Linked DNA regions of Homo sapiens: all the other regions are linked to region 3. The links are contacts of gene promoters, found by promoter capture Hi-C in blood cells and fetal thymus (Javierre and others, 2016). All regions are on one chromosome and are shown on one strand. Each heading gives the region's core, a stretch centred on a gene start or on the middle of the fragment in contact. The rest is flanking DNA. Distances are from core to core; before and after follow the strand shown. Region 1 overlaps RSF1 (remodeling and spacing factor 1). Region 2 overlaps GAB2 (GRB2 associated binding protein 2). Region 3 holds the start of NDUFC2 (NADH:ubiquinone oxidoreductase subunit C2).

The links. Contacts are between HindIII fragments. The CHiCAGO score rates a contact against its expected background, and 5 or more counts as called.
Region 1: a fragment that was not itself captured here is called in contact with the fragment with the promoter of NDUFC2 in region 3 in 1 of 17 cell types (total CD8 T cells); the score reaches 5.5 in total CD8 T cells.
Region 2: a fragment that was not itself captured here is called in contact with the fragment with the promoter of NDUFC2 in region 3 in 3 of 17 cell types (M2 macrophages, non-activated CD4 T cells and naive CD8 T cells); the score reaches 5.9 in M2 macrophages.

The regions. Positions count from the first base shown.
Region 1 is chr11:77,809,559-77,812,690 of GRCh38, forward strand. The region is part of intron 1 of RSF1 (remodeling and spacing factor 1); the gene reads right to left. Among named protein-coding and RNA genes, the nearest start is that of RSF1, 9.6 kb to the right of the region's middle. The HindIII fragment of the contact is 1,997 bases long and covers 848-2,844 here.
Region 2 is chr11:78,347,309-78,350,839 of GRCh38, forward strand. The region is part of intron 1 of GAB2 (GRB2 associated binding protein 2); the gene reads right to left. Among named protein-coding and RNA genes, the nearest start is that of GAB2, 69 kb to the right of the region's middle. The HindIII fragment of the contact is 3,231 bases long and covers 471-3,531 here.
Region 3 is chr11:78,078,286-78,081,728 of GRCh38, forward strand. It overlaps NDUFC2 (NADH:ubiquinone oxidoreductase subunit C2), which reads right to left and starts at 1,577. Exons shown (of 3, transcript NM_004549.6): 1 at 1,294-1,577. The coding sequence starts at 1,459. It overlaps NDUFC2-KCTD14 (NDUFC2-KCTD14 readthrough), which reads right to left and starts at 1,577. Exons shown (of 3, transcript NM_001203262.2): 1 at 1,294-1,577. The coding sequence starts at 1,459. It overlaps LOC105369401 (a long non-coding RNA gene), which reads left to right and starts at 2,910. Exons shown (of 3, transcript XR_950342.2): 1 at 2,910-3,156. RefSeq lists an enhancer at 1,297-1,356 and a silencer at 1,560-1,749. The HindIII fragment of the contact is 4,740 bases long and covers 1-3,443 here.

The DNA.
Region 1 (3,132 bases), core at 596-3,095, 270 kb before region 3:
AGGAGAAACCAGTTGACCACAGTCAAAATTCATAGGACAAAAAACCTCTAAAATGAGGATTATGGAATGTCTGAATTCAGATGCCAGACCAAGTTAGTGCTGCTGTAGATGGTTTATTTATGGTTCTGATAAACTGGAGGTTGGCAAGACTTTAATGGGAATATAAAGTAAGCTCCATTATACTTCTGATTAATCAAAGTTTTCCAATATTACCATATTGCTATATCCCCAAACTCCAAATACCAAAAGCAAGTTAGAATGGATTATTTGGAATAACTCATTCTACCTAATTTTCTTTTCCTAAAACACTTTTAACATCTAAACATTGAAGAAGTGGCAATTATATTTATTTGCAGAGCCAACTGTGAAGATGCTAAGGACAAAAGGAAAAGAGTAAGTATCAAACTCCCTGAGATATCTAGCATAACACATGCCTAAGCTTCATAACCAGTACTGCACTTTTGCTGCAAAATACACTGATGACCAAGGCATTTAATCCCACTTACTAGTAAGCTATTATCTAGTACATTCTTTCCCAGTCCTGTGTCCTCTAAGTAACCTAAGTAAATCTTTTAAGTTCTACCTTTAATAACTACATCCTTTCCCATCTGAGTACACGGCATCACCATTCATCCAACCTTACCCTCCCCTAATCAGTCCACTTGGATAAGACTTTGAGGCCAGTATAGCAGCAATGTTACAACAACTCTTACCCTCACTACCAATTACCATGTCACATGGCTCCCATCCTGGCATTGCCTTATGACAATTAGGCAGAGGTAGCCATGGCTACTCTTGAATGAAAGAAATTTAGTTCAATATAATGTCATCACCTTGTTAACAAAAAAGCTTTTAGACTCACCTAACCCAAGAGGAGTAATTAATACTAAAACAGTTGGATGTAAAATTAGATCAATACTGGGGAGACTACTGTTCCACTAAGTTTCATTCACAGGACATTCTAGGCATTTAATTTGTATTATATTGGTTCCTTTTTATTTTTATTTTTTGGGGGGGAGATGGGTGGAGTCTCCCTCTGTTGCCCAGATTGGAGTGCAATGGCATAATCATGGCTCACTGTAATCTCTGCCTCCTGGGTTCAAGCAATTGTTGTGTGGCAGCCTCCTAGGTAGCTGGGATTACAGGTGTATCCCACCACATCCAACTAATTTGTATTTTTAATAGAGACCAGGTTTCACCATGTTGGCGAGGCTGGAAATTTGTATTATACTGGTTCTAAATGTATTTTCAAAAACAGAGATCATCATCTGATAAGACTTCCATCTTCATACACTGGAATAAAGATCAGTAAATTTTTTTCTGTAAAGGGCTAGACAGATAATAAGTTCTTCAGGTTTTGGGTTTTGTTTTTTTCTGAGACAGGGTCTTGCTGTTTCACCCAGGCTGGAGTGCAGTGGCATGATCAGCCTCAACCTCTGGGACTCAGACAATCCTCCGAAAGTGCTTGGATTGCAGTATGAGCCACCATACCCAGCCCAATACTTTAGGTTTTGAAGTTATATGTTCTCTGTGACCATCACTCAACTCTGCCACAGTTGTGTGAAAGCAGCTACAGACAACAGAATGTAAACAAATGAACATGGCTGTATACCAGTAAAACCTTATTTACAAAGATAGAGAGGACAGGCTGTAGATTGCCCACCACTGTACTAAGCTATCACAGACTAGGCTTTAACTTCAAAGTTTTAGAGCAGAACATGGTCCTATAGTAAGTTGAGGAAAACTATTAATTCCACAAACATTTACTACATATTTGCTATTACCCACCAATTGCTGGTGATAAAATAAAGTAAGAAACCCTGTCCTCAAAGAGTTTACCATCTTGTAGGCTAGGCAGTAACTGCAAAAAGTGTTATGAGTACTGTGGCATAAAATCTACAAAGTGTACGTGCAGGGTAAGGAGATTGAAGTGGTTAATTTAACTTGAGAGACAGAAAGAAGGAAATTTTCCACAGAGCATTTGATGCTTAAAGAGCAGACTAATGACGGGTACAGTGAGCAGGCAAGGGAAGGAAGATGGGGATGGTATATTCGACTCAGAGGCAGGAGGACGAAGAAAAAGCATAAATGTAAAACAACCTTTCACATCTTCAGAGATGTAAAAGCAGTTTGGCGTGATTAAAACTAGCAATGAGAACAGAAAAGCAAGGTTGAATATAAAAGGGGATAAACAGACTCAATATAACTTGGTATCAAAGAAAGTGTCAGAGGCTAAGGTCTAGGATGCCTCCTTGGTTTCTGATCTGAGTGACTTGGGTAGATGATAGTAACATTCATTTAAGAGGTAATTCAAGATTAAGAATAAATAAATAGGCTGAGCTTGGTGGCTCACGCCTGTAATCCCAGCACTTGGGGAGGCTGAGTCAGGTGGATTGCTTGAGCCCAGGAGTTTGAGACCAGCCTGGGCAACATAATGAAACTCTGTCTCTACTAAAAATACAAAAAATTTTTAGCTGGGTGTGGTGGCACATGCCTGTAGTCCCCAGCAACTTGAGAGGCTGAAATGGGAGGATCGCCTGAGTCTGGGAGGTAGAGGTTGCAGTCAGCAGAGAACAAGCCACTGCACTCCAGCCTGGGTGACAGAGTGAGACCCTGTCTATAAAAATAAGAGTACATAAATACAAGCAGAAATTCAATTTTCCTTTTAAAAAGCCTCTTTAGAAATCTAGTTTTAAATAGTTTTTTGGTGATTATCAAAGAAATGCACAATTAACATAGAAAATGAAATGTGAAAAAATATAAGAAAAACCAAAGGGAAAAAACTGTATAATCCTACTATTCAGAAAATGATTAAGATAAACATGTACAAATACTGGAGAATAAAGCTTAGAGTCTAAAATTAAATACAGACTCAACCTCCACTACGAAAGCTTTCTGGAGGAACTCTTGCTTACATGAGCCATATATACATTATATACTTCATGTTGCTCTTCAAGCAATCCTTGTTCAACTACAGGAGGCTGAAGCCTGGTCTGTCTGCTGTCAAGTTTTGCCCTCATGCTCTTCTTTCTTAAAATCAGTTTGGGCTGGATGTGGTGGCTCATGCCTGTAATCCCAGCACTTTGGGAGGCCGGGGCAGGCAGATCACTTGAGGTCAGGAGTTTTTGAGAC
Region 2 (3,531 bases), core at 836-3,335, 270 kb after region 3:
CAACTACCATCTCACATTTTTATATCCTCCTCATAGGGTACAGCTGGGCGTTTTTATATGGGTCCAAACTGACATTGAAAACAATGCCAACATAATAAGGTAGAAAGAACATGGGCTTTGGAGTTGGGCAATCATGGACTTGAGCCTTGGTTGTACGATTTGAACAAGTTAATACTTCTGAGACTTCTTTTCTTCATCATTAAAATAAGGATAATTATCTTAGAACATTTATTTCTTGAGAAATAAAGTTCCTGATACATAATAGACACTTACCTAAAAGATAATCCCCATGTTAACCCTTGCTTCACACCATATACAAACATTAACTTGAACTGGATTATAGACCTAAATGTAAAAGCTAAAACATCTCCTACAAGAAAACATAGGAGAAAAATCTTTGTGACCTTTAAGTAAACAAAAAGCATAAATCATAAAAGAAAAACTGAAAACTAAGCTTCATCAAAATTCAAAGCTTTTGTTCCTCAAATGATACAATTAAGAGAAGGAAAGGGCATGACACAAACTGGGAGAACATACAGTTGAACCTTGAACAACATGGGGGTTAGGGGATGGCTCCCTCCCATGCAGTCAAAAATCCATGTACAACTTTTGACTCCCCTGAAACTTAACTACTATAAACAGTGGAATAACACATACTTAGTATGTTATATATTATATATTGCATTTTTACAGTAAAGATAGAGAAAAAAATCATAAGGAAGATTAAAATGTATTTAGTATTGATTAAGTGGAAGTGGATCATCATAAAGGTCTTTATCTTCATCTTGACATTGAGTAGGCTGAGGAGAAAGAGGAAAAGAAGAGGTTAGACTTGCTGTCTCAGCAGTGACAGAAGCAGAAGAGGTAGAAGGGGAGGAAGGGGAGGCAGGAGAGGCAAGCACACTCAGTGTCACTTTTACTGAAAAGAATCCAAGTATAAATGGACCCATGCAGTTCAAGCCCATTTTGTTCAAGGATCAGTTGTATTCACATGTTTTCACAGATTGAAGGAAATGTTTAATATATTTCTATCTTACAAAGAACTGGTATCCAGATCATAAAAGGAACTTGTACAACTCAGTAAGAAGATAAATGACACAATTTTTTAAATGGGCAAAAGATTTGAACAGATACTAGACAAAAGAAGATAGTATACAAAATGCCAGTTGGCACATGGTGCTCAACATCACTAGACATCAGGGAAACAAATGAAAACCACAATGAATACCATGACCTATAAACCCATTAGAATGACTAAAATTAAAAAGGCTGATCACACTAAGTGCTTCTGAGATTGTAAAGCAACTGGAAATCACATACACTGTTGATAGGAAAGTAAAACAATACAGTTTGGAAGTTTCTCAAAAAGTTTAACACGTATCTACCATATGACTGAGCCATTCAACTGCTGGGTATACCTGGGAGAAATGAAAATGTATGCTCCACAGAAAGATTTCCAAGTGAATGTTCATATCAGCTTTATTTAAAAGAGCCAGAAACAAGAAAGAACCCAATGTCCATCAATAGGTGGTATATCCACACAATGGAATACTACTCAGCAATAACATGGATACATGCAACAACATGGACACATCCAGAAATCACTATGCTGAGTGAAATAAGCTGCACAAAAAGTGTACATACTGTACTCCTATAAAATGCAAACTAATTTAGAGTGACAAAGAACAGAGGAGTGCTTGCCTGGGGCTAAGGGCAAAGGAAGGGAAAGACTGCAAAGGGGCAAGAGGAATCTTTTGGGGATGATGCCAATGTTCTACATCTTCAATGTAGTACTTGTTTCATGAGTACGGACAGACACCTATGAGACTCATTAAATGTACACAGATATAGTTCACTGTGTGTAAATTATCCTTTGAAGTTGATAAGGAAAAAAGTAATTTCCTTTGCCACTCCTGCTGCCACTGGAAACAAGTTAGCAAGCTACTACCTCCCATATCTCACGATCACTGGGAAAACAGGAAGCTGTATAGAAGTTGGTGAGAAAATGAGTGGTATTGCAAAAAACATTTGATTATTAATGAGGTGTCTGGTACTAAGTTACAAATCATCTTACTTAATTCTAACACTTTTGATGAGGTAGGCACTATTATCTCTATTACAGATGAGACAACAGGCTCAGAAAGTTTAAAGAACTCATTGAAAGTCACCCCGATGGTAAATGGTAGATTTGGATTCAACAATGTATGCTGGCATCAGACCAGATAAACTTACCTTCGAATGCTATTATTCCCTACAGTGCTTAGGGCATCCTCAGAAAGGAAAAGCCCTGATAGCCTAGGGACAAGAAGAGCTGCTAGAGATTTCCTTCATCAGGACTGAGAAATCCTCTCAAGTCAGGGAGTTTTTTTTCTTTTAAAAAATTTTTTTTAAGTCGGTGAGTTTTAGCAGCCTTTTTCAAAGCAGCTTGGGAGAGTGGGAGGTGGGGTACACCTCTGCTTCTGGAGCAGAGGAGAATCCTCTCACTTGGCTCCAGCATTTGCTGGTATTTTGTTAACTTTTGGCTCCTCCATGTTCACCCACCCACTGGTTTCCCAGAGTAAAAATGCCAAAATATCTTGGCTGAACAGGCGAATGGATCACAGATGACAGAGGTAAAAAAAAGAAAAAAAGAAAAAAAAAAGAAAGACAATCAAGAGGTTCTGTAATATGCTTCTTTTTAAAGGTAAAAGCAAATTGCACACGTCCTCATTCTTATTCTCTTTGAGTTGGCTGTCTTGTGAAACATTCTGTTGTCTATATTTTCATTCATCACATTGAAAAAAAAGTTAGGCAAATGGGTCATGCTGAAAGTTTAAGTAAATTTACCGTCTTCCTATTTCAGACCAGCTGTAGTCCATCTCCCCTGAAGCCTGGCCAACAGATCAAGGAGAACATGGCTTGAGCTGCAAAAACAGACCAGAGAGAGAAACCCTGGGAAACTAGGCTCTAGCGGGTAGCTCAGGAGGGGAACCCACACTGCAGAGGAAAAGTAAAGAGGCCTGGGTGCCGGGATTAACTCTAATCATCCGTGAGACTCTGGCAAGACATGCTCTCCCTCAGAACCTCCAAAGACTGGAGTGATCAGGTTTTTCAACTTTTAACAAAGGCCCAGCGTTTCTAACCAAATATAATCTCCCTAAACCCTCAGTTTCTCATGCACTTCCTCTTTGAGGATTGCTCTGCTGCCTGTTTATTCCTCAGAAACCAAGTTTCACTTTCTGAAATCTGTTATAAAGCCAGGCGACTTTTCATTGTTACACTATAAATTATGATACCAAATAAAAACTTCTAAAAAGTATATACAAGGATAATCTGAAATTCAGCCATAAGCCTGAGTGTGTGTCATTGAGAGTTAGGAACTAAATGCTCTAAAACAAACTGTGATGTTTTCTGGTTGTTCCTCATTTCCATTCCTGACTTAGCCTGAACTGCAATTTTACTAAAGCTCCTTTGCTTCCCCTTCACACACGTTAAGAATTCACCACAGGAACATGTGCTTTTGTGCTCATTGAACTAAAGCCTCCTCCCCAA
Region 3 (3,443 bases), core at 327-2,826:
CTGACTGCCTAGAAAATAAATTGCCATGCTCTGCTAAAATCTCCCTTGCAGTTTTATCTAAACCTGAACACTCACTCAATCATCAAACACCCTCCATTCAGAGGTCCTTGCCCCCATTAGCTCCCACTAGCCCCACGGGCCTAGAAAGCTGTCTGTCTCTCAGTCCTGCCTGATAATCAAAGTTAACTTCAAAGACCCCTCTTCCAAAGTTCCTCTCCTCTTTTCCCTCTGGAAATCCATAGAGCTTAGCAAAGCTACTGTGGTGGTTATTATCAGAATAGTCAGTGTCTCTGATAGGAAGCCAGTGACATACTACTGGGAAGTACAGCACACTGGTTTAGAGCCTCCTATTCAAACCGTGGTCCTCAGACCAGCAGCAGCAGTGTTTGAGCGCTTGTTGTTAACATCAAGTTCCTCCCCAGACCTCATGAATCAGGATCCGCTTTTTTTTTTTTTTTGAGACAGGGTCTCACTTTGTTGCACAGGTTGGAGTGCAATGGTGCAATCTCGGCTTACTGCAACCTCTGCCTTCCAGGCTCAAACGACCCTCCTGCCTCAGCCTCCCTCAGCCTGGGACCACAGGCGTGCACCACCACGCCCGGCTAACTTTTGTATTTTTTTGTAGGGACGGGTTTTCGCCCTATTGCCCATACTGGTATCGAATTCCTGAGCTCAGGCGATCCGCCCGCCACGGCCTCCCAAGGCGCTGGGATTACAGGTGTGAGCCACCTCGCGCAGCCCAGAATCCGAATTTTAACAAGACACCTATGCTATTCGTATGCACATTAAGTTTGAGAAGCACTGGTGTCCAATATCCATTCAGAGGTCAAAAAAAAAAAAAACCAAGCTCTGCTACTTAATAGCCATATGACCTTGGGCAAGCTGCTGTTAATCTGTTAGGCTCGGTTTCCTCGTTGTGAATAATACATCCCTAAAAGTGTTTTAAGGCCGAAATGCTATCAATAATGCCCACAGTGTGAGTAGTGCATGGCATGGAGTCATGGCTCATTTGCGCACACAGCACAACACGAACTGAGGAGAGTAGTTTCGGGTCCTTCACAGACTCAGTTCCTGCTTCACTGCACCTCAGTTTCTTCAAGTGCCAAATGACACTCTGGCTCTGCTTGATTCTAAAGAGCTAATGGGGCGCGGACTCCCCGGAAAGGCGAGATGGGGCCAGCTAGGCAAAAAGGCACGGAAAAGCAGAGCACCTCAGGGGGGCCTACGGCCGGGCCAGTCTGCAGCCCTACGACCCCTTCTCCTCCCAGCCGATCCCGGCCGCGCAGCACTCACCAGCCGTCGCGATCGGCCTCCGCCGGATTAGGTTATCAATCAGGCCGGAGCAGTAGCCCAAGAAGCCGATGTAGAGGAGCCGCGGGTCGGTCAGCTTGGGCGGGGGCAGGCTCCGGGCCTCATCCGGCAGAAACCGTAAGGGTTCTGGGTTCCGCCGTGCGATCATGGTGACGCCGTTTCCACTTGAGGCCTGGTCTCAGACCACGAACTACAAGGAAAACCACGACGACCACTACCCCGGCCTAAGCGGTCAGCTTTCTCCTCCTCCTCTGCGCGCCGGACTCACGGGCACGGCGCAGCGCGGTGCAGCGCCCAAACGCTTCCCGGTACGTGTTGCTGCGGGAACCCGGCACGCGAAGTTCCGGGCTACTAAGTTTCACTTTGCTCGTCCGCCCGCGCTAATTCTCTGGTGGGAGTGGGATTCACGGGCCTGGTAACGCGGGGTCGAGGAGTACCCCAAACGAGCCAAACTGGGCGAAGACTAGGAGATACTGATTTTCTTTTCTCCCAACTTCCCCAACCAGAATTGCCTCTCCCTCCCCTGCCCCTTCTGGAAAGATTTATCTTTTCATCCAATACCCACAAATGGGCATGATGCGTAGTTTTGATAAACGTAATTAATTGAAATTCCATAAAAGCTAGTTTTCGTTTTCTGAGTTTTCAGTCGTTCATTCGCATAGACACTCCCTCCAAAGCCTAAAATTAAGGTCTGGCCAGCAACAAAAGAATTTAGAGAAGCCCAGGACTGGATCGTTTTAGTCTATTGTTGAAATTCAGATTCGGAGGCAGCACCCTAAAATGTTTCACCTCTGGGTCTTCACGTCGTTACACATGGCTGAGTGAGGAGGTGTTCCCTAAAGGTTTGAGTAATGAGGCCAGGCGCCGTCACTCACGCCTGTAATCCCATCACTTTGGGAGGCTGAAGTGAGCGGATCACTTCAGGAGTTCAAGACCAGCTTGGCCAACATGGTGAAATCCCATCTCTACGAAAAATACAAAAAATTAGCTGGGCGTGGTGGCGGGTGCCTGTAGTCCCAGCTACTGGGAAGGCTGAGGCAGCATAATCGGCTGCTCGGGAAGCTGAGGGGGGAGAATCGCTTGAACCTGGGAGGTGGAGGTTGCAGTGAGCCGAGATCGCACCATTGCATTCCAGCCTGGTCAACAAGAGCGAAACTTCGTCTCAAAAAGAAAAAAAAAAAGGTTTGAGTAATGAAAGAAGGAATTTATAATTCTGTTAAGCAATTTTCCAGTCTCTGCTGTCAGGCCTCTCAGCCGAAGCTCAACCATTGTAACCCCTGTGACTTGCACATATGCGTCCAGATGGCCTGCGGGAGCCAAGAAGTCTGGGGCAGCCAAAAACCCACAAAAGAAGTAAAACAGCCACTTCCTGCCTTAACTGATTAACAAACATTCCACCATTGTGACTGGTCCCTGCCCTACCTTAACTGATCAACCATCCTTGTGACATTCTTCTTCTGGACAATAAGTCTTATGATCTCCCCATCATGTACCTTGTGACCCCCTCCCCTGCTAACAATAGATAACAACCACCTTTTACTGTAATTTTCCATTACCTACCTAAATCCTATAAAGCAACCCCTTCCCCATCTCCCTTCATTGATTCTCTTTTCGGACTCAGCCCACTTGCACCCAAGTGAATAAACAGCCTTGTTGCTCACACAAAGCCTGTTGGTGGTCTCTTCACACGGATGCATTTGACATTTGGTGCTATGACTTGGATCGGGGGACCTTCCTTGGGAGATCAATCCCCTGTCCTCCCGCTCTTTGCTCCGTGAGGAAGATCTACCTACGACCTCGGGTCCTCAGACCAGCCCAAGGAACATCTCACCAATTTTAAATCGGGTAAGTGGCCTCTTTCTACTCTCTTCTTCAACCTCTTTCACTATCCCTCAACCTCTTTCTCCTTTCAATTTCGGCACCACCCTTCAGTCTCTCCCTTCCCTTAATTTCGGTTCCTTTCCCTGTCTGGTAGAGACAGAGGAGACCCGTTTTATCTGTGGACCCAAAACTCTGGCGCTGGTCATGGACTCGGGAAGACTGTCTTCCCTTGTGTTTAGTCACTGCAGGGACGCCTGCCTGATTATTCACCCACATTTCAGAGGTGTTCGATCACTGCGGGGACACCTGTT